Regions from separate parts of the Homo sapiens genome. Here regions 1, 2, 4, 5, 6 and 7 are each linked to region 3. The links are contacts of gene promoters, found by promoter capture Hi-C in blood cells and fetal thymus (Javierre and others, 2016). All regions are on one chromosome and are shown on one strand. Each heading gives the region's core, a stretch centred on a gene start or on the middle of the fragment in contact. The rest is flanking DNA. Distances are from core to core; before and after follow the strand shown.

Evidence for each region. Contacts are between HindIII fragments. The CHiCAGO score rates a contact against its expected background, and 5 or more counts as called.
Region 1: a fragment that was not itself captured here is called in contact with the fragment with the promoter of CA14 in region 3 in 1 of 17 cell types (M2 macrophages); the score reaches 5.0 in M2 macrophages.
Region 2: a contact is called between the fragment with the promoter of SV2A here and the fragment with the promoter of CA14 in region 3, in 7 of 17 cell types (neutrophils, monocytes, naive B cells and 4 more). The highest score is 12.0, in neutrophils.
Region 4: a contact is called between the fragment with the promoter of H2AC20 here and the fragment with the promoter of CA14 in region 3, in 1 of 17 cell types (neutrophils). The highest score is 5.5, in neutrophils.
Region 5: a contact is called between the fragment with the promoter of MTMR11 here and the fragment with the promoter of CA14 in region 3, in 1 of 17 cell types (neutrophils). The highest score is 6.2, in neutrophils.
Region 6: a contact is called between a fragment that was not itself captured here and the fragment with the promoter of CA14 in region 3, in 1 of 17 cell types (M2 macrophages). The highest score is 5.5, in M2 macrophages.
Region 7: a contact is called between a fragment that was not itself captured here and the fragment with the promoter of CA14 in region 3, in 1 of 17 cell types (M2 macrophages). The highest score is 5.6, in M2 macrophages.

The regions. Positions count from the first base shown.
Region 1 is chr1:150,684,766-150,687,525 of GRCh38, reverse strand. The region is part of intron 2 of GOLPH3L (golgi phosphoprotein 3 like); the gene reads left to right. Among named protein-coding and RNA genes, the nearest start is that of GOLPH3L, 11 kb to the left of the region's middle. The HindIII fragment of the contact is 3,143 bases long and covers 1-2,760 here.
Region 2 is chr1:149,916,221-149,919,312 of GRCh38, reverse strand. SV2A (synaptic vesicle glycoprotein 2A) reads left to right here and starts at 1,469. Exons shown (of 13, transcript NM_014849.5): 1 at 1,469-1,574. RefSeq lists a silencer at 1,556-1,625. The HindIII fragment of the contact is 16,072 bases long and covers 1-3,092 here.
Region 3 is chr1:150,256,513-150,259,486 of GRCh38, reverse strand. It overlaps CA14 (carbonic anhydrase 14), which reads right to left and starts at 1,713. Exons shown (of 11, transcript NM_012113.3): 1 at 1,304-1,713. The coding sequence starts at 1,358. RefSeq lists an enhancer at 2,829-2,974. The HindIII fragment of the contact is 8,593 bases long and covers 1-2,974 here.
Region 4 is chr1:149,885,647-149,888,546 of GRCh38, reverse strand. H2AC20 (H2A clustered histone 20) reads right to left here and starts at 1,629. Exons shown (of 1, transcript NM_003517.3): 1 at 1,136-1,629. The coding sequence starts at 1,572. The coding sequence ends at 1,183. It overlaps H2BC21 (H2B clustered histone 21), which reads left to right and starts at 1,865. Exons shown (of 1, transcript NM_003528.3): 1 at 1,865-2,900. The coding sequence starts at 1,907. The coding sequence ends at 2,287. It overlaps H2AC21 (H2A clustered histone 21), which reads left to right and starts at 582. Exons shown (of 1, transcript NM_175065.3): 1 at 582-1,078. The coding sequence starts at 631. The coding sequence ends at 1,023. RefSeq lists enhancers at 512-801, 822-961, 1,372-1,431, 1,562-1,631, 1,952-2,241 and 4 more. The HindIII fragment of the contact is 4,135 bases long and covers 1-1,662 here.
Region 5 is chr1:149,935,465-149,938,495 of GRCh38, reverse strand. It overlaps MTMR11 (myotubularin related protein 11), which reads left to right and starts at 1,617. Exons shown (of 17, transcript NM_001145862.2): 1 at 1,617-1,914; 2 at 2,267-2,342; 3 at 2,791-2,912. The coding sequence starts at 1,849. It overlaps OTUD7B (OTU deubiquitinase 7B), which reads left to right. Exons shown (of 12, transcript NM_020205.4): 12 at 1-684. RefSeq lists an enhancer at 1,827-2,351. The HindIII fragment of the contact is 11,640 bases long and covers 1-2,658 here.
Region 6 is chr1:150,708,122-150,711,021 of GRCh38, reverse strand. It overlaps HORMAD1 (HORMA domain containing 1), which reads left to right. Exons shown (of 15, transcript NM_032132.5): 8 at 2,061-2,128; 9 at 2,615-2,766. Among named protein-coding and RNA genes, the nearest start is that of HORMAD1, 11 kb to the left of the region's middle. The HindIII fragment of the contact is 3,217 bases long and covers 1-2,900 here.
Region 7 is chr1:150,646,779-150,649,960 of GRCh38, reverse strand. It overlaps GOLPH3L (golgi phosphoprotein 3 like), which reads left to right. Exons shown (of 5, transcript NM_018178.6): 5 at 1,213-3,182. The coding sequence ends at 1,640. Among named protein-coding and RNA genes, the nearest start is that of ENSA, 19 kb to the right of the region's middle. RefSeq lists an enhancer at 2,595-3,096. The HindIII fragment of the contact is 2,900 bases long and covers 132-3,031 here.

The DNA of each region.
Region 1 (2,760 bases), core at 215-2,714, 430 kb before region 3:
TTGGCTCACCGCAACCTCTGCCTCCCGCGTTCAATTCTCCTGTGTCAGCCTCCCAAGTAGCTGGGATTACAGGCATGCACCACCACGCCCGGCTAATTTTTTGTATTTTTAGTAGAAACGGGGTTTTACCACGTTAGCCAGGCTGGTGTCGAACTCCTGACCTCAGGTGATCCGCCTGCCTCGACCTCCCAAAGTGCTGGGATTACAGATGTGAGCCACCACGCCCAGCCCAAAAAGGTTTTTAAAATCAGTCACAGTCAGTCAGTGTCCAACTTGTTGATTATTGGCTATGAATGAAGAAAATTGGCCGCCTTAAAAAGTGACTCAATCCTAAAGCATTTTATTATAATTAAAATATTAATAGCAGGCCGAGCAAAGAACAAGACCTTGTCTTAAAAAAAAAAATTAAAAGTCTAATTTAAGTTACTACCTGGTCTTTCCTTTTAGTTTCCTAATCGCGCAAAATGAACAATAAGTCTCCCAGTAGCTACTGCGATTGTGAATAGGGCAACTGTATCAGAAGGGCTTGTTTGTCAGGTTTTTTTCTTTAAACATAAGCTGTTAAAAAAATTAACTTTTGTTTTTTATTATATCCAGGCATATTAACCCCAAATAACTATTTACTATTGGTATAAAAGGAAATAAACTGGAAGACCAAAGACCTGTTTTAATAGTAGGAAAATATAGCTTAAGCTATTTCATTAAGATCTTCTCCCTAATTCTTCCAATCCCCAAATGCACACAGTACTCTCCCAAAATATAAAATATCTAGTATTGATATTGAGACAAAGCTGCCCACTTGAATTTGGGATTTTGGCTGTAACCACTGTGCCTATAAACTTGCTGTCAGCCATTTCATCACTTTTGCCTCCATATTTTGTTTGTATAATTTATTTTCAAAACATTTTGCAGTTTCTATTGTTTAATCCTGCAAGGCAGGTATCATTCTCTTTATAGGAGTCAAAGTTAAATGATCATTTGGGCAATAAATTGTGGAATTTACATTCAAACTGACTCTGCAACTGGGCGTGGTGTTTCACTGCCTGTATTCCCAGCAGTTTGGGAGGCCAAAATGGGAGGATTACTTCAGGCCAGGAGTTCAAGACAAGCCAGGGCAACAAAATGAGACCCAATCTCTACAAAAAAATGAAAACAGCCCTGCGTGAACCTATAGTCCCAGCTACTCAGGAGGTTGAGGTGAGAGGATCACTTGAGCCCAGGAGTTCGAAGCTGCATTGAGCTATGATCACACCACTGTGCTCCAGCCTGGGCCACAGAGCACGACTCTGTCTCAAAACAGGAAAAACAAAACAAAAACAAATATCTGACTTTGCAGTTTAAAAAGGACATGCTGGCTGGGTGCGGTAGCTCACGCCTGTAATCCTAGCACTTTGGGAGGCCAAGGCAGGCAGATCATGAGGTTAGGAATTCAAGACCAGCCTGGCCAATATGGTAAAACCCCATCTTTACTAAAAATACAAAAATTAGCCGGGTGTGGTGGCACGCACCTGTAATCTCAGCTACTCGGGAGGCTGAGGCAGGAGAATTGCTTGAACCAGGGAGGCAGAAGTTGCAGTGAGCCAAGGTTGCGCCACTGCACTCTAGCCTGGGCAACAGAGCAAGACTCTGTCTCAAAAAAAAAAAAAAAAAAGACATACTTACAAAGCAAGTTTCACATGTTTCTCTGTATTTCTTCCTGAAATAAAGAGAATTGTTCAGGATCGTTAACTGTTTAGTGTGACCCAAATAATTTCACCTCCTTGAATAGATTCTTATGGATTTTATTTTTTATATTTTTATTTTTATTTTTTGAGATGGACTCTCATTCTGTTGCCCAGGCTAGAGTGCAGCGGTGCGATCTCAACCCACTGCAACCTCCACCTCGTGGGTTCAAGCAATTCTCTTGCCTCAGCCTCCTGAGTAGCTGGGACTATAAGGTGCATGCCACCACGCCTGGCTAATTTTTTATTTTTAGTAGAGACAGGGTTTCACCATATTGGCCAGGCTAGTCTCAAACTCCTGACCTCAAGTGATCCACCTGCTTCAGCCTCCCAAAGTGCTGGGATTACAGGCATAAGCCACTGCATCTGGCCAGATTCATATGGATTTTAATTTATGCCTCCTATTAAGATAAAAGATTATTATGTTTCACAATAATATTTGGCATATGAGTTATTTTTCAGGTCTTATCCATATCTTTCTTGTTCAAATGTTTAATACCCCAGCAAAGCTCACTCCTGGAAAAAGATTTTGGGATCCTATAAAAAACATTAACTAGGCATCAATAATGTCAGAAAAAGGGAAAATACTACTGTAAGGAATTCTGAATGATTTTATTAGTTTTATTTTTACTTCAAATTTTCCATTCCATTGCCTCAAATATTAAGGAGGAAATAGGAAAATTCTATACATTATTTTTCTCTTCTCCTTTTTGAAACAAGATATTCTAGTCATAAAGGGCAACAAGTCCAAGTAAGAAGTTTGAATAACCCAACTGGCAAAAGGAAGATATGTTTAACGAATAAGTAAATAATATTTAATTATAATTATCATATTATCGCTGGGCATGGTGGCTCACACCTGTAATCCCAGCACTTTGGGAGGCCGAGGCGGGTGGATCACCTGAGGTCAGGAATTTGAGACCAGCCTGGCCAACATGGTGAAACCCCATCTCTACTAATAATACAAAAATTAGCTGGGCGTGGTAGTGCATGCCCGTAATCCCAGCTACTTGGGAGGCTGAGGCAGGAGAATTGCTTA
Region 2 (3,092 bases), core at 220-2,719, 340 kb after region 3:
TTATACATTGACATTATGATTCTGATTTGGCTTCAGGGAGAGAATGTACTAGACATGTAGATATGAGTTTTCAGTCTGAGTGACAGTTAAATATTTATGATAAATTAATATTTATGTATTATGGCTTTATATTTCAGAAGATTGTGAACTTTGTTGGCATGAATGATTATTTCCAAGATCCAGCTTTGGAGTCTGCAAAGCCCAGGCCCGTGTCCCTGTCAGAGGTAAATTCAACCTGGCAAATGTTACCTGTGTGGTCTCTTCGGACATAGCCTGTCAGCCTTCTCCATGTATATATATCAGCATTCTGAAGCCTCCACATTTAGTAAGGCAGAATCACACGCTATTAGATCTGAGAGGGACCTGATGCAGTATCTAGTCCAAGCCCCCCTTTTCCAGATGAGAAACCTGAAGTTCACAGATGTGGAGAACTTGACCAAGAGTTGACAGCTTGTTAGCAGTGAGAACCCAGGTCCAAGCCCAGGTCAGTGCTGTCTGGAAGGTCCTGACCTTATCTGGCATAGACACATTCAGGATGTATTTCCCCAAATCACCATATTCCCTCTCACTCCTTCGGCAGGGATGGTCATCAAGTGTCACCAAGTGGCATGTCTTGGATCTCTGAGTCCAGGTTATTGATGCAAGAGCAAAGGAAAGATGAAGGGAAAAGCTGAAACAATTTACTTCTTCCTGCCCGGGAAGTACAAGTGTGTGGAGGGGAGGGGAGGGAGGTAGAGGAGAGTAAGAGAAAATGGAGAAGGGTATTGAGAGGATCCTTTTTGAGTCATTGGAGCAAATTAATGGAAGGGGAACTGTCCGGTTGGTCAGGTCTGTAAAAATCCCTCAACTTCCCCAGTACTTCTGCTACCACCAACTGAATGGACAGGATGAGGAGGTGTCCACTGTAAATAAGTAACCTGGACTGTTTTGTGAGGAAAGAGATGGAAGGAATCCAGGGGTCTCTGACTCTGGCAGTTCAGGATAGAAACCACACCTTGTTATCTCTGCTTTCTCTAAAATGTCCAGGTAAACTTGGAATAGGAGCACTCTGGATTTGGGAGACTGTTGTGAAAAAGGAGTTTGAGAGCAGTGGAGAAGGCAAGGGAGGTGTTTTGAAGGCAGCAAAAGCCCCTGAAATTATTGGGTCCTGCCATACTGAGACTGGGGTGCTAAGGAAGGGGCTGCCACATTCCCCATCTCCCTGTCTTCCCACTTGTCTTCCTAACATCACTGTTTTTTTCTTTAGTTCCTTCTATCTTTTACTAGGAAGGGCCTGGGAAGGGCTGGGTGCCATTTCCAGCTGTTCTTGTGACAACCTCCGGCCCTTTCATCATTTCTCCCCGTGCCCTGACTCCCTCCCCATCCTCTTTTCTCCTCTCCCCACCAATGGTCTCTCCCGATGCTCAGTGGCGCGGGGTAGGGGGGGGCGGAGGCGGGGCTGGAGTGGTGGAAGGGGGGTGGCAGGTCTGCATTGCCGCTTCCCTGGTGCCGGGAGCAGTCGCCGCTGCCGCCTCCGCCCGCGGCCGGGACCCCCGTCCTCGCCCGGGACTCCTTACCCGGGGAACCTAGACCAGGTGAGACCCCTTTCTCAGTCGCTCACCTCCTCCCCGCCCCTGGCAGAAGCATCTTTGCCTTGCCTTGCAGCCATTTTATCCTCCGATGCTTTGCTTATGGGGAGGGTGACGATCCCCTCTCTAGGGGTGAGGGGGGTTGGTGGGTTGGTGGTGGTTTGGGGATGGACATTTATTTCAGTTGTGCTCTTCAGGACACACACACACACACGCATATGTATAATATTGGTGAATGGGGAGGAGGGGTGTTTTTCTCTACCTTAACCAAGTCCCCACTATCCCCTTCGGAGATTAACGTGGTGGTGGGGTTGTGAGGTGGGATGAGGTTCCCTCAAACTCCTATCCCCTCCTCACCTTGACGTCCCCCCACCCCCAGGATGAATGATAAATGACCTTGGCTGGGGCTGGAGAATGGATGCTGCCTCAGTGTGCACGCCTGGACTTGGGTGGGTGGGGGGCAGGGGAAGAAGGGCAGGTGAAGGATGGAGGGAAGGGGAGTGAAGAATGGAAATACTGGGGAGACAGAGATGTAGAGCCGCCAGGTGTTGGGGGCATGGATGGCGGGGGCTGGCGGCAGTTGCTCCGGGGTGGGGGGAAGGGATGTTGAGTGAAGGTGGACACTTGTCTAGCAGCAGGACCAAGGGTGGAGGAGGTGCTCAGAGCAGGGATTTAGTCAGTTCTGGGGGCTTTTCCCTTATTCCGGAGCTGAGGCAAGATGGGGTGTGGGGGGGTCGCTGCAAATGCTGATAGGGGCGGTCTCTATGTCTGTGCATGCGGAGGTCTCTCCCTGCGTCCCCCTCTCTGCCTCTCCGTATTCCTCAGTGTGCATTCTCAGCTGACACCCTCATTTTTATCCCTCAGAACTGTGGGTGCTCCTATCTTCCTAACCTTGGTAGGATGTGGGGAGGGGAGGCGCAGTCTTGATGGTCCTGGGTGGGGGCTGAAGTTCGATGACCGGGCTGTCATGGGGAAGGGGTGCTCCCGCACCTCCCACATTCTACCCCCGCCCCCGCGGACGTTTTGATAAGTGATTGCTTTTTAATGACCTTGTCACCTGAGCTAGGAAGGCCTGGGGATCTGGGTGGACCCCAAAGTCAGGGGCTTTGACTGGGAGGGTGGGGGGTTCTGGACCCAGGGCTGGATGAGCTGTTCTGAAAGAAAGCATTTGCTCTGGAGTCCCCTGCCTGTCTCCACCCTCTGCAGAAAATCTCCTGGGCACATTTTTTCCTGTCAGGTGAAGTCAGCCAGCCTAGGACCTTGTAACCCTGAACCTTGTCTCCTTTAACCTCCACCTCTCCAAGTCTTGTCTCACTCCCCCAGGCTTAGCCACCCTGTGCTGTTTTGGGGGCTAAAAATAGCACCACTTCCTCACCAGCTCAAAGAATTTGTCTTCTTTCTTTCTCTCCTGACCTCCTGGGCTTGCTGGCCCTGAGGAAGCTGGCTGTTGAGACCTCATATCCTGCTGTGGTTGTGGAAGGCTTCCCTGCCCTACGTGCCCCTCTCAGGGGGAAATAGGGTCAA
Region 3 (2,974 bases), core at 464-2,963:
GTGGGTGGGCACAGGCAGCCAGGCTGGCAGGGACAGGATGAAAGTGAAGCATTGTGTGTAGAGAAGAGAGCTGCCAGCTGGGTCACATGCCAGGCTCTCGTGCAGTCCTGTCTGACGCAAAGGCTGAGGGTCTGCAGGTCCAGCCCCTCCCTACGGCCAAACTGCCTCAAGAAGAAAACGAAGGCCTTCATGGTTTATGCTGCAATATTCATACTACTAGAAACTCTGGAGAAAAATCCTAAATTCCTTCCTCTCTCTGTCTCTTATTCCCTTAAATTCCTCAAACTTGTGAGATGTCCTGCTCTTATCCTTGACCTATTCTGCTAGCCCAAGGGAGAGCTGGAGGCAGCCTCTCATTTTACCATATCTGTGGGACCCCCCAACAACTCAAACTCCCTGGTCTGTAAAGGTGCCTGTCCACTCTGGTCAGAGCCTCAACACACTTATTCTGTCTCTTCCTCCTCTTTCCCTCTTTTTTTCTTTCTCCTCAGATGAGATTTGTGACTCTCCATTTGGCTGCCTGCCTGCCCCCATCCTCTCTGCATTTGCCTTCTGCTCTCTGGACACCCACCTCACCCTGCTCTTTCCACAAACCTCAGTTACACACCTAGTATGTGCTGGACACTGTGCTAGGCACAGGAAACACAAAAATGAGGTCTAGGAGTTCCTGGGGACACTCCTGGAGCGCTTCAGCCTGTTCTCCCAAGAATCCCTCCTCATCTCCTGGGAGCTCCTGAAAGTCCTTTGTAAACTGTAAAATGTCAAACAAATGTTGACTCTTACTGCCACTTTCAGAGGATAACTGGGGAGTTAGTCGCTCCACAGAATGAAGAGGGAATCTTGGCCAAAAGGGGATGAATTGGAGATCAGGGTCTGAGTTGGGCAGGAAGTATTCTTCCCCCTACCCCCATCTATCCATCTTTTTACTCCAGGCCTCTTTGACTCCCTATTTGGAGGAGTTTGTAAATAAAGAAGTCCAGGAGTCCTGCCTGGGACCAGGGCAGTGGGGGAAAGAGCTCTGGAGAAAATCTGTAGCCTGCAAAGAGATTCCAGCACTTGCATGTGTACACACTCTGCCTGCCTGCCGCTAGTTCTCCCCGACCTCCAATAACAACAAGGCTGGAGAGACAAAAGGTAAAGAAGGGAAGTGGTCTCCTCCACACCCCACTCTTTTTTCCTCATCTCTGAGCCTATTATTCCAGCCTCTAGGCTTCCTTTCACACCTCTCCTCCCCCCATTAAGCACACCTGGCGACATGTGAACATCAGCACAAATCCACACACAGACATTTAGTTGTACCTACCCCCATCTGCAGCCAGGATCCAAATCACCTCCAGCAGGAGGGCGGAGAACAACATAGTGTCCCAGGAAGGGGTGCAGGGGACTGGGAATTTGAGGACTAGAGGACTAGGACAGGCAGAGAGAGAGGGAGGGAGGAGTGAGAGAGAGAGAGAGAGAGCGAGCGAGCTCCTGGCGTGAGTGTATTTATCTCTGCTTCTCTTGCTGTCTCTGTCTCTGTGGGCTTCCAGGGGATTCGGTGTTCAGTAGGGTATCATGGGTTTCTGGATCCCCAGGACAAATCTCTTGCTGCCTCTTTGCCCTCTCTCTTTATCTCCCTCTGCAGTCTCCACTCCACTAGCTGGCCAGCGACTTTACAACTGCCTCCTGCTTTTAAGGTGGCTCTGAACTGGTGTATGTGGGGACGGGGGTGCTGCCTGGGCTGCTGGTGAACAGCTCCTTAAATAGCCAATTAGGCATGCAGGATGGCCCCACTCGGAGCTGGAGCGCGGCAAGTTTCACTGGAGCCCTGGCCCTGGCTCAGGAGCCCAGCTGGGGTGAGCTCTTCCTTCCTCTGCTAGTCACACAGATGCTGTTTAGATGGGTGTTCCCTGGAGCAGGCAGGGTCAAGGAAGGGGCTTTGGGGTTCAACTCAGCCCCCTCAAAAGGACACTGTATTTTCATCCCCCCGCCTGATTTCTCCTCTGAGGAGCAGCTCCCTGGGTGGTATGCGGCAGATGGTGGGGGTACCTGTTCCCAATTCCCTGCATAATCTGAGCTGCCCTGGAATGGGAAGAGTCCAGAATTAGGAGATATATAACAAGAAGGAATTAGGGACTCAGGGTGCAGGGGAGGGGTGGAGGAAGTCAATAACTAAAACCTGAGTTGTGTCCTAAGTTCTAAGGAAGAGAAGTGAGGCAAGGAGAACTCATCTGGAGCAATCTCTTCTGTGCCTGCCACCACCCCCTTCCCACGGTGAGGCCTGGGTCCACGTGCCTGTGTGGCCTGGGGTGGGGGGAGTGCGGGGAGGGAGCGTTGTTTGCTGGATAAAGCCCATTTGTATGCCCAGTGGGGGAGGGGTGTAGCAGCACCATGGAGAGACAGCGGCTGTAACTGCCAGACCCAGCCACCTCCCTCTCCAGGGAGCCCAGATCTAGGGCGGCTTTTGTCACTGAAGAGGACACTGACCTCCGGCAGAGAGGCCAGGGCAGGAGGAAAGGAGAGACTTTAGGAACAATCACTACCACCATCAGAAAAAGGTGGTTTCCAGAGAAAGAGAGGGGAGGGTCTGGAGAGACCATGTGATCCAGATGGAAGAGGGGCTCAGGGTCTTCCTTCCAGCCCAACAAAGGGCTGAGGCAGGACATGTGGCACTGAATGAAACCTGCCACCAAGGAGCTGCGTCCGTGGAGCATGGAGGCTGCACGTCTCAGGAATGTGAACTGATGTTTGCTCCCCACGGGACTGGAAATCCCGATTGGAATGTACATCCTAAATCCCTCGTTAGAGAATGTGAAACCCACAGATACTTTCAAGCCAGACATTGAAACCTCTTTCTCCTCCATGCTCTTCACCAGAGGCACCAGCCAGGAGGATGCACCCATCTGAAGCTCCCTCTGCCCTCCTTGCTCCTGCCGAGTAGCAATAAATAGCCAAACAAAGGGAGCAGAAGCTAAATAAGGGAGCAGGATAAAAG
Region 4 (2,900 bases), core at 380-2,879, 370 kb after region 3:
ATTCCGAGGAGTGCAGGCGGGTGGGGGTGGGGCGGAGACACGCCGCTGCGGGCGACTTAAGTTTAGGGGCGAGAAAGGAGGCAGCCTTAGTAGTACATGTATTTTTAAAGGGAATTTGGCTGTGACGAGACAGAAAGGGCGGGACTTGGCAGTTTAGAGCTCAAGGGGATCATCGGCTTCAGAATCCCCTACTCTTTCGTGAGAGTAACTCTCCGTCTAAGGATGTCTTCTGCAGTTCCTTAGGGTCCATATTGGGATTTCCCGGCTGTAAACTAAACAAAGCAAAGCAAAACAAAACAAAAACCCACAGTGCCTCTCAGTAAAACAAAACCAGTATTTTGTTTGAAAGCCTGCTCTCTTTAAAGATCCTGGCATGCAAATAAGGGGCTTTAATGTGGCTCTCAGCGATTGGTAGATACTTACAAAATCCGTCATTTCCTTTCAGTGCAGGACGCAAACCAAGAGGCGGCTTTCTGCTTTTCTATTGGCTGTTAGATACGGCTCCGCTTTTAGCCAATCAAACGACTTCCCTTCACCCCTCCCGGTAGCTCTTATAAATTACATCAAATTGGTTATTCTTTCCACATTCTTCTCCTTGTAAAAGAAGCTGTAACTGCAATTTTAGCCGTAATGTCAGGACGCGGAAAGCAGGGAGGCAAGGCCCGCGCTAAGGCCAAGTCGCGCTCGTCCCGCGCTGGTCTCCAGTTCCCGGTGGGGCGAGTGCACCGCTTGCTGCGCAAAGGCAACTACGCGGAGCGGGTCGGGGCAGGCGCCCCGGTGTACCTGGCGGCGGTCCTCGAGTACCTGACCGCGGAAATTCTGGAGCTGGCGGGCAACGCGGCTCGGGACAACAAGAAGACGCGCATCATCCCTCGCCATCTGCAACTAGCCGTGAGGAATGACGAAGAGCTCAACAAGTTACTCGGGGGTGTCACCATTGCCCAGGGCGGCGTCTTGCCCAATATCCAGGCTGTCCTGTTGCCCAAGAAAACGGAGAGTCACAAGCCTGGCAAGAACAAGTAATTAAGAGGCTTGACACCATACTCATTCACCCCAAAGGCTCTTTTAAGAGCCACCAAAGTGTCAAATGAAGGGCTGATCACGAAATAGCGCATTAGCTCTTTTTTTGAAAACTTGGGTGGCTCTAAAAAGAGCCTTTGGTCTTGGTTTGTTTGTCTGCATTTATTTGCTTTTGGCTTTGTGGCTTTCGGTTTTCTTTGGTAACAGAACGGCCTGGATGTTAGGCAAAACGCCGCCCTGGGCGATGGTGACTTTGCCCAGCAGCTTGTTCAGTTCCTCGTCGTTGCGGATGGCCAGCTGGAGGTGACGAGGGATGATGCGCGTCTTCTTGTTGTCCCGAGCCGCGTTGCCCGCCAGCTCCAGGATCTCGGCGGTCAGGTACTCGAGGACCGCCGCCATGTAGACGGGCGCGCCGGCCCCCACCCGCTCCGCGTAGTTGCCTTTGCGCAGCAAGCGGTGCACTCGCCCTACCGGGAACTGGAGGCCAGCGCGGGACGAGCGCGACTTGGCCTTGGCGCGGGCCTTGCCTCCTTGTTTGCCACGACCAGACATGACTGAAATCAAGGTTAAACACAGACAACGCTCAGAACCTCGCAACAAAATAAGATTGAAAGAGAACCAAGAGGAAAGCCTTTATAAGCTTTCCTAGGGGTGGGGTCAAGAACGAGTTTTTCATTGGTCCTAATATGGCTTCAGAACCGGCCAATCAAGTCAAGAGTCGGTGTTGTTACGTACGCATTGCTGAAAACGCAAGGTCCGCACACGGACCAATGGAAATGAACGACTTTCGGAGCCCTAATTTGCATAAGGTGGTTATAAAAGAATCAGGCCCGCCCATTCTCTTACTTCTTTTCTTGGCTAAGCCGCGTTTGTACTGTGTCTTACCATGCCTGAACCGGCAAAATCCGCTCCGGCCCCTAAAAAGGGCTCCAAGAAAGCCGTCACCAAAGCCCAGAAGAAAGACGGCAAGAAGCGCAAGCGCAGCCGCAAAGAGAGCTACTCCATCTACGTGTACAAGGTGCTGAAGCAGGTCCACCCCGACACCGGCATCTCGTCCAAGGCCATGGGCATCATGAACTCCTTCGTCAACGACATCTTCGAGCGCATCGCGGGAGAGGCTTCCCGCCTGGCGCACTACAACAAGCGCTCCACCATCACATCCCGCGAGATCCAGACGGCCGTGCGCCTGCTGCTGCCCGGCGAGCTGGCCAAGCACGCCGTGTCCGAGGGCACCAAGGCGGTCACCAAGTACACCAGCTCCAAGTGAGTCCCTGCCGGGACCTGGCGCTCGCTCGCTCGAGTCGCCGGCTGCTTGACTCCAAAGGCTCTTTTCAGAGCCACCCACCTAATCACTAGAAAAGAGCTTGTTCACTTATTCCCTTAGTTTCTTTTCATAAAGTAAGTTATTTTAGTGTGAAGGTCATGGGAAATGGCATACGTAGCTTTTTAACTATTTGGAACTCGAGGTCCCCAGTGCGTCATTGGATTTGCTTTTGAATCTAGAGCGTGTCTTTACTCATTGTGCTGCTTAGCCTTCCCAGGAGTCGGTTCTCAATTAGGCTGTTGGGAATCCGCCTCTTTACCCGCCCCCACTCCCGCCCCACACGCGCCCTGGTGGCTCCTTGGGTCTGTTTCATTCTAAAACGAAGTGGCTGAGTTCGGCTGTCATTTAAGAGAACTCCAGGACACAATTCAGCCCGGGTTCCGCAAACACTGCGTGACAGCTCTGTATGACTGACGCTTGGCAGCAGCTTTTGTGTCCGGTCACCAGTTCTGCCGTGCGATGGGGCCTCCTGTGGATACCAGCCGTTCTGTGTATTTTGGACGAAGGCCGCGCAGCCGGGTCCCAGCCTTGTCCTGATTGGGCGACAAGAATATTC
Region 5 (3,031 bases), core at 368-2,867, 320 kb after region 3:
CCTCTTCCTATGTCTTTTTTTTTTTTTTTTTTTTTGCGATGGAGTCTTGCTCTGTTGCCCAGGCTGGAGCGTAGTCATTAGATCTTGGCTCACTGCAACCTCTGCTTCCTGGGTTCAAGCGATTCTCCTGCCTCAGCCTCCCAAGTAGCTGGGATTATAGGTGTGAGCCACCACGCCTGGCTAATTTTTGTATTTTCAGTAGAGATGGGGCTTCATCATGTTGGCCAGGTGGTCCTGAACTCCTGACCTCAAGTAATCTGCCTGCCTTGGCCTTCCAAAATGCTTGGGATTACAGGCGTGAGCCACTGCGCCTGGTCCCTATTTTCTTTTTACAACAGACCTTGGGAAATATTTTCTTCCCCCAAGAGGTTGAGGCCCATGGAATGCATTAGGGGCAGGTGGGGTGGTGGTGCTCTGTAGCCTTTAGGACTTCTAGAATCAGGCTTCTGGGCCACCTTCTTAGCAGGTGTATACCTCTTTGTTCCAGACTGACTTTCTGTCTCACAATATCTTCACTATTTCCACAGTTGCAGCCAAGACAGGAAACTGAAAGCTGAGGCCAGAAGGGTGGTGTACTGGGGGGAGGGGAAAATTGAGTGTCACTTTGGAAAACTGGGGCCCCCATCTAAGGATTGCTGCCTCTGTAGATTCAAAAGCAATAAAACAGCAGCTCATTAACTCTTATTTTGTATTTTATTTTCTGTCTTTTTCATGTCTAAATAAAGATTTTTGCTTTGCTGTCCCCAAGTCCCCCTCCTTTAAAGGAGCTGCAGCTCCTTCTCTCCTTGTTCCCAGCTTTCCTTACCCATCTTTGCTTCTAGGGTTGCAGATGGGAGGGACGGGGGATGGACTGCTGAGCTGAAGAGAGGTTTCCAGCCCTCACCTGTGAAAGTCCTGAACATGAATCATTCATTTGGAGATCTGGTGTCTGGGTTGGAGGGGTGGAGTCACATACGGGAATGGGCACTTATTGCCTATTGGTTGTGTATCTACGTGATGGGCAAGATTAACTGGTAAGATCTTTTTGTCCCACCCACATCCCCAAGACTTGCACACAAACTGTACTTGTGTCTGCATCTTGGACACATTTCCATCTCTTTTTATACTTCTCCACTGCAGTCTTCACATGATGTCTGTGTCATGCCCTCTAGAGAAAGATATGCAAAACCACTTTAACCAGTTTCCCTGCTTCCTCACCTAATTCTTGGGCCTCTGCTGACAAAAATCCCCCCAGGTCTAATTTTCATTTTCTTCTGGAAGAGGCGGCAAGGAGGCTTGAACCACTTTCACATTCCTACCCCTCTCCCCGCCCCAAACCCCTTTGAGAAGACAAAAGAACGGAGCTTTTAAGGGAAGTCATCACTGAGACACTCCAGACAGGTAGCCCAGATGATTCCAGCTTCATAATCAATAGAACTGCTCCCCTCAAACGGTCTCCAGTACTCATGAACAGGAAGAGAACAGGGTCTGGGATTGGGGTAAAGAAGGGAGTCGTTTTTCTCTCAGTCCCCATTTCTTCCCCACCCGTCCGTCTCAGACTCCACCGTTTCCTCTCCACTTTTCCAGAATTGTGTGTATTCTCCTTTAAGGGGTTGGGCATCTCTCCCGCCCTCTCCAGAGTCGACTGAAGTTTCCGAGGAGACTTCTCAGGCTGGGCTGGACACACCTTTCCAAGGACCCCCAAACTCTGCTCCGTGCACGTCAAATGCTCCTTTCCCTTGTGTCCAACCCCCTACCCCTCTCCCTAACACCCCTCTTCTCAACAAGACTCAGCCTCTCCCCGAGGTGGGTGAGCATCCTTGAGGTTTCCCACCCTTAACTGCTGTGTCCCCGGATGGAGCCAGAGAAATGTGGTGGGGGGGCCGGGGCCAGAGTTTCAACATTGCCCCCCAGAAGGAGGAGCCAGAGATGGGGGTAAGGAGAAGGAATTTGGGGGGTGTCGGCAAGAGGGTGAGAACGGGGATGAGGTGGAGATAAAAGGGGGAAGCAAAGGCTCTAGAGGAGGAGGAGGAGGGTGTGTCTGTCTATCAGCTTCTGCTGATGGAGCCTGGTCCGTCTTTCTCAGTCTCAAGTTCGTTGTCTCATTATCCATTAACCAGCCCCTCCCTTTACTGTTTACCAGCCCTGTTAGGTCTGGAGCTCCCCACAGACACTGATCTCAGTTTCCCCCGAGAGTGTGAGTGTAGGCCTCTACAGGCAGCTGCCTCTGGGGAGTTGGGGAGCCTAGGGGTTAACTCTAGACCCCCCTCAACCCTCTGGACCAAAGTCTGTCCAGGAAAATAGGATGCCGGAGCCCAGGAGTCGTCAGCCTAGCAGTTGCCTGGCCTCCAGATGCCTCCCAGGTAATAATGCCCTATCACTCTCCAAAGACTTCCAAATTTCATCCTACGCCAATCTTGTTTCATGCCCTCACCAAAGATACCCCTGTGTTCCTCTCGTGGCTCGAAGTACGTCTGCCTGAGGCTCGCTGTCCTCCCTGACAGCCTCTAGAGCTGGCTGAGAGCTGGACCTTGACATTCCTTCTGTTTCCTTGACCCTGTTACCCCTTTTCAAATTTACTTATTCGATACATAGTTAGTGCCTGCTATGTGCCAGGCCTTGTTCTAGGCTCTGTTCTAGTTACAGAAATTAAAAAACATTTATCTTTCCTCATAAGCTTACATTGTAGTGGGCTTTGGGGAGGATTTTAATCTTCCCTATTTAGATCTCCCTTTCTTGGAGGGGTGGGTGTATCCAAGTGTGGGCAACACTGGGAACAGTCATAACAGGGCTTCCCTTCTTCCCCTTTAGGGGAGCAGATCCTAGCATGGGCCCCAGGGGTGAGGAAGGGCCTGGAACCAGAATTGTCTGGAACCCTGATCTGTACCAACTTTAGGGTCACCTTCCAGCCCTGTGGATGGCAGTGGAATCAGGTGAGATGGTTGGGGCCACAGAAATGACAGCTAGTGGGAAATGGGTAGGGGAGTCTAGCAGGATTTAGACAAACATTATGGGTTAAGGGCTGTCTTTTGAATGTATCATTGATAATCAG
Region 6 (2,900 bases), core at 71-2,570, 450 kb before region 3:
ATCTCATTTATTCATCCCAACCTTCATGAGGTAACCACTATTAGCATCTCCGCTTTACAGATGAGGAAATCTAAGTACAAGGGGTTTCTTGCCTAAGGTCATAGTGGCTGAAGTGGCAGAACCAGGTTTTTGAACCTAGGAAGGCCAGTTCACAATTTGGGTGTTTACCCATTACGCTATAGCTGTTACAATATAACGTTTCATTCAGTCAAGGAGAGGTAGATTTAAACTGGTGTTAAAAATAGACGTTTAAAAACATCACTATGTAAGCAATGAAATATAAAGAAAGCAATAGAAGTATTCAGGCTTCAGGAGGGCTGAGAATGTGTCTTTTCTTTGATACTCACACCTGCGATTAATGCTTAATATGTATCCATGCTGACAAAGCAGATCATTTGGGTAAAGGCTGTGAATTAATAGATTGTGTTCAGAAAACTAATTGATTGTTCAGAAAATGTTCATTTATTTTCATATGTTATATAGTTGTGCATTTTTTCTATCAGTAAATTAGCAACCTTGTTGATACAATAATAATATTTATTGAATGTTTACTATATGTCAGGTACTTTATAAAGTACCCTGTATAAATTATCCCATTTGTGAATATTTATTCACAACTATCAATGAGATATGTACTGTCTTTAATCTCTTTTTTAGCTGGGGAAACTAATACTTAAACTAAGGCTTAAGTGGCTTGCCTGTGGTTACAGTATAGCAAAGATTTATGCCCTGTGTTAGCCACTCTGCTGAGGTATGTTGCCTCCCTTATCTGCCTGCTAAGGAGTTCCTTCCATGTGGTATAAATAACTGAAGGGGTGGCCTGCCCCTCCACACCTGTGGGTATTTCTAGTCGGGTGGGACGAGAGACTGAGAAAAGAAATAAGACACAGAGACAAAGTATAGAGAAACAATAGTAGGCCCAGGGGACCGGCGCTCAGCATACCAAGGACCTGCACCGGCGCCGGTCTCTGAGTTCCCTCAGTTTTTATTGATTATTATCTTCATTATTTTAGTAAAAAGGAATGTAGTAGGAGGGCAGGGTGATAATAAGGAGAAGGTCAGCAACAAACATGTGAGCAATAGAATCTATGTCATAATTAAGTTCAAGGGAAGGTACTATGACTGGACGTACACGTAAGCCAGATTTGTTTCTCACCACCCAAACATCTCAGTGGAGTAAAGAATAACAAGGCAGCATTGCTGCAAACATGTCTCGCCTCCCACCATAGGGCGGTTTTTGTCCTATCTCAGAATTGAACAAATGTACAATCGGGTTTTATACCGAGACATTCAGTTCCCAGGGGCAGGCAGGAGACAGTGGCCTTCCTCTATCTCAACTGCAAGAGGCTTTCCTCTTTTACTAATCCACCTCAGCACAGACCTTTTATGGGTGTCGGGCTGGGGGACGGTCAGGTCTTTCTCATCCCACAAGGCCATATTTCAGACTATCACATGGGGAGAAACCTTGGACAATACCCCGCTTTCAAGGGCAGAGGTCCCTGCGGCTTTCCGCAATGCATTGTGCCCCTGGTTTATTGAGACTAGAGAATGGCGATGACTTTTACTAAGTATACTGCTTGTAAACATTTTGTTAACAAGGCACGTCCTGCACAGCCCTAGATCCCTTAAACCTTGATTTCATACAACATATGTTTCTGTGAGCTCCAGATTGGATCAAAGTGGTTGGGTCAAAGTGGCTGGGGCAAAGCTACAAATTAACAACATCTCAGCAAAGCAATTATTTAAAGTACAAGTCTTTTTCAAAATGGAGTCTCTTATGTCTTCCCTTTCTACATAGACACAGTAACAGTCTGATCTCTCTTTTCCCTACAATAACATACATTACAATGAGTTGGGAAATAAATGTCTCTCCAAGACTGAAGCCCCAAACCCAAACCATGAAAACTGACTATGAGGAATCAAAAGTTTCAATGGATCAATAGGGATTAATATGGCAGAAAAAAGTATTGACTAAATGTTGAGTCATACAAAACAGAATATAGCTATTTAGCAGCTAGTACTGAATATCAGAAGCATAACTGCGATATTTTCTATTTAAGACAATTTCAGAATGTTACCAATTCAAATTCAAATACACCAATAATGGACCACTCATGGACTTCATAAGGTATTGTTCTATAGTTTTCTGTTTGTATTACAGATTACCACTTATTCATATTAATGCTATATAGCTAAACCTCAGGATTCATTCTGAAACTGCGGGGACATCCCCAATTAACCATCAAGATGTGGCTATGCAAAATGGAGTGGTGGCTTGCAGTAGCTTCAAGCCAGGATTCTGTGGCTAATAATAAGCAATTTTAATTGTGGAAAGAGAACTTAGGTGATTAGAAATATAGAAATATAATTTTAAAACATAATGTGCTTTCTTTAAACACTTCATATAAAATGCACTTAAGTAAAATTAAGTTATTATTTCTAGCAGATATTAATATTAAAATTTTATAATAGTGACATTAAAACACATGGTAACTTTCAAGTTAACAGCTTAATGCTATAATAGAAATAAGAATCTCAAATAGTTAAAATGTAAAGTTATGATATTAGAAGCCACAGGTTTTATAAAATAAATTAATATGTGATTCTCTTCTAGTAAAAACCAAAGCAACGAATCTAGCATGTTGTCTACTGACACCAAGAAAGCAAGCATTCTCCTCATTCGCAAGATTTATATCCTAATGCAAAATCTGGGGCCTTTACCTAATGATGTTTGTTTGACCATGAAACTTTTTTACTATGATGAAGGTACTATTTGCAATACATCCTGTTTCAGTTGGTACATATGTTTTATCATTATTGAAACAATTGGTTTCCATTCCAAATATTTTTAGCACCTAAATTTTTTGAAATTATAAAATTTACACTTAATATCACTATTC
Region 7 (3,182 bases), core at 332-2,831, 390 kb before region 3:
GGCTGGAGTGCAGTGGTACAATCTCAGCTGACTGAAACCTCCGCCTCCTGGGTTTTCCTGCCTAAGCCTCCAAGTAGCTGGGACTACAGGCGTGTACCACCACACCCGGCTATTATTATTATTTTTAAGCTTAGCTTTCTAGGAGTTGCCTCTGAGTTAGGGTAGCTTATTGTTCAGCCAGTGTTGGTTCAGTGGTTGTGCTTTAGCCCTTGGTGCCAGTGAAGCATCCACCCTTTTTTGATAGATCTATGTGTGGTCTGGGGAATACTCTCAAGTCAAGCCCCACGTCCTGCTCTGATTGCTCCTGAGTGGGTGCAGCCTGGTGCAAGCACACAGTCTTCCCAACCCCCAGTGTTGGTCATGATTCCAGAAGGACTTTTCTTGGCTTTCTGTTTCTCTGGTTCTGCCTGTTAAACTTCTGGAGGCTTTGCCATTTGGGTTTGTCATACCAGTGCCATAGAGCTAGCAGCACCTTGTAATTGCTCTCCACCAAGATCTCTATGGTTTTCAACACCCTTAGGCATAGAATTCTCCACACTGTGTTCCAAATAAAGTCAGTCCTCTCAGGCAGAGCTTTGGAGCTCTTCATTCTTCAGGCCTTCCTTCCCTCCTGGGCAGAACTTCTGCACAAGGGCCCACTTCTCCTACAGTGATACCCACCTGCTGTATGAGTAGGTGCTGGGGGAAAGAGGTGTTAGCCCCTGGTCTTCTTGACTTGCCTTTTCTGTTGCAGAATCTCTAATCTACGAACAAGCTGGAATGGGAGCAATTGAAGTCTAAATATTGTCAGCCTACCAGGCCTGGGATAGAGCTTCTGCTCTACAAATAGGGTAGGGAACCTCAGTCCTCTTAGCTTCACCAGCAAATAGAACTTCCACAATATAGAGTAGAAATCATCTGGGAGAGACTGGTGTCCTAAATAGAATTTGAAAAATACATAAATAATTACAGTGTCACAGAGGTCACATAAGAACAGAAATAAAGTCTATAAGCTCTAGCAATATGGAAGTCCTTGGTGACATTTTTTGAAGCTGGTTTAATGTGAAATGTGGTTGGAGTCAAAGCCAGATTATAAAGGACTAAGGATTAAATGAATTGAGGAATGAAGATTATGCTTTTAAACATTTTAGCCATTCAAGTTTCCAAACAACTACATGTTTCATTTTGCTTTTCTCTTTCAGTTCATTATGTCCTATTTCTTTTTTCTCATAGGTGAGACCTGGAACCCCTTCAAATTACAGTACCAGCTGAGAAATGTACGAGAGCGCATCGCAAAGAACCTAGTAGAGAAAGGTATTCTAACCACTGAGAAGCAGAATTTCCTGCTATTTGACATGACTACTCATCCAGTGACCAATACAACAGAGAAACAGCGACTAGTGAAAAAACTTCAAGATAGTGTACTAGAGCGGTGGGTAAATGACCCTCAGCGTATGGACAAGCGAACACTAGCACTCCTGGTGCTAGCCCACTCCTCTGATGTGCTAGAGAATGTCTTCTCCTCTCTGACAGATGACAAGTATGATGTGGCAATGAATCGAGCCAAGGACTTAGTAGAACTGGACCCTGAAGTGGAAGGGACAAAGCCTAGTGCCACAGAAATGATCTGGGCTGTGCTGGCAGCCTTCAATAAATCTTAAAGCCGGCAGGTGGATTTCTCCTTTTCCCCTGCTGGCTGGTGACTGTCAGAGACCCCATCACTGAGTTTTGTGTGATGAGATGTTTTCATCATTTTTGTTTCCTTTTCTTGAATCAGACTTGTGATTTGGGGAGAGCAACTTCAGGGCTTCTCCATAGACCTTGACCATTATAAGCAGACCTTATTTCTCCCTACACTTCCACTCCATAGGTAAATAAACTGGGTGAAGCCACACACACCCAATGAACATTTTCTCCCATTTGGTGGTTTAGTTTCACCCAGTGTGCTTTTGGATAAGCAGAAATATCTAAATGGGATTTTGAGTTCTCCAGCTATAGAATGTGAATGAGATAAAAAGTGAACTATCTATTATATTTTTCTGAGTTTGTTTTCTATCATAAATACATGTTTTCACAGCCTTTGTCTCTCAGACTCTGCTAAATAATGTAGCTTATTGAAATAACTGTCGCTGAATAAGGAGCAATGAGAAACAAAACTAATTTTTGGAGCAGATGGTCTCTGGAATTGCATATCCTGCTAGTGATTTTCTCATCTTTCCTTTTCTAACCTAATGAGAATGTCCCAGATTCAATTACCTGGATGTCAAAGTCCTAGAGCCAGAAATATATTCTCTCATCCCTCTTAGCATTCTCTTGCTCCCTCATTCACTAGGGCAAATGTCTAAATGAAGAAAAGTCTCTCTCAACACCTCGTTCATGCAATCAGCATTAGAATTTGTAAGGAAGGAAGGGGGGTGGCATGAAAATTTCCATTCTTGGGGTATATGACTGTCCTGTTTCCCCCAGGCCACTTTTTTTTTTTTTTTCTTTTGAGACAGGGTCTTGCTCTTGCCCAGGCAGGAGTACAGTAGTGCAATCACAGCTGACTGCAGCCTTGACCTCCAGGGCTCAAGGATCCTCCTGCCTCAGTCTCCCAACTAAGTGGGACTACAGGCACGTGCCACCATACTCAGCTTTTTTTTGTTTGTTTTAGACAAGAGTCTCGCTTTGTTGCCCAGGCTGGTCTTGAATTCCTGGGCTCAAGCAATTCTTCCACCTCAGCCTCCCAAAGTGCTGAGATTACTGGCTTGAGCCACTGCACCCACCCCTCCAGACTACTTTAAATGTCTCTGCTCTGACTGAATTGAAGGAATTGTAAGTTTCAGTTGCTGAATATATCAGTATATCTGAACTCCAGATCTTTTTATTTCCTATTTTTGGCTTCCTACATAAATTAATAAAGTCTGTCTATATTTAAGGTTTCTGGGAGTAGTTTTGTCTATATTTAATCCATAGATGTGCTCCTAGTCATCAGTCTTATTTCAGTAAAACCATCTTTCTGGCCAAATCTCTAACACGTTTTTTACTTCAGTAGTGAGGGCAATGAGAAGCTTTATTAAGAAAGATCCTATTTAAAGGGCTAATTTGGTATTGAAAGCATGCTGATATAAAGTCCAGTATTTGAGGATATAAAGAGGATGTGCACTGAGCTGTGCTGATGTTCAGCATTTATTATACTTTAATGGGATAGTGCTTCTTGACCA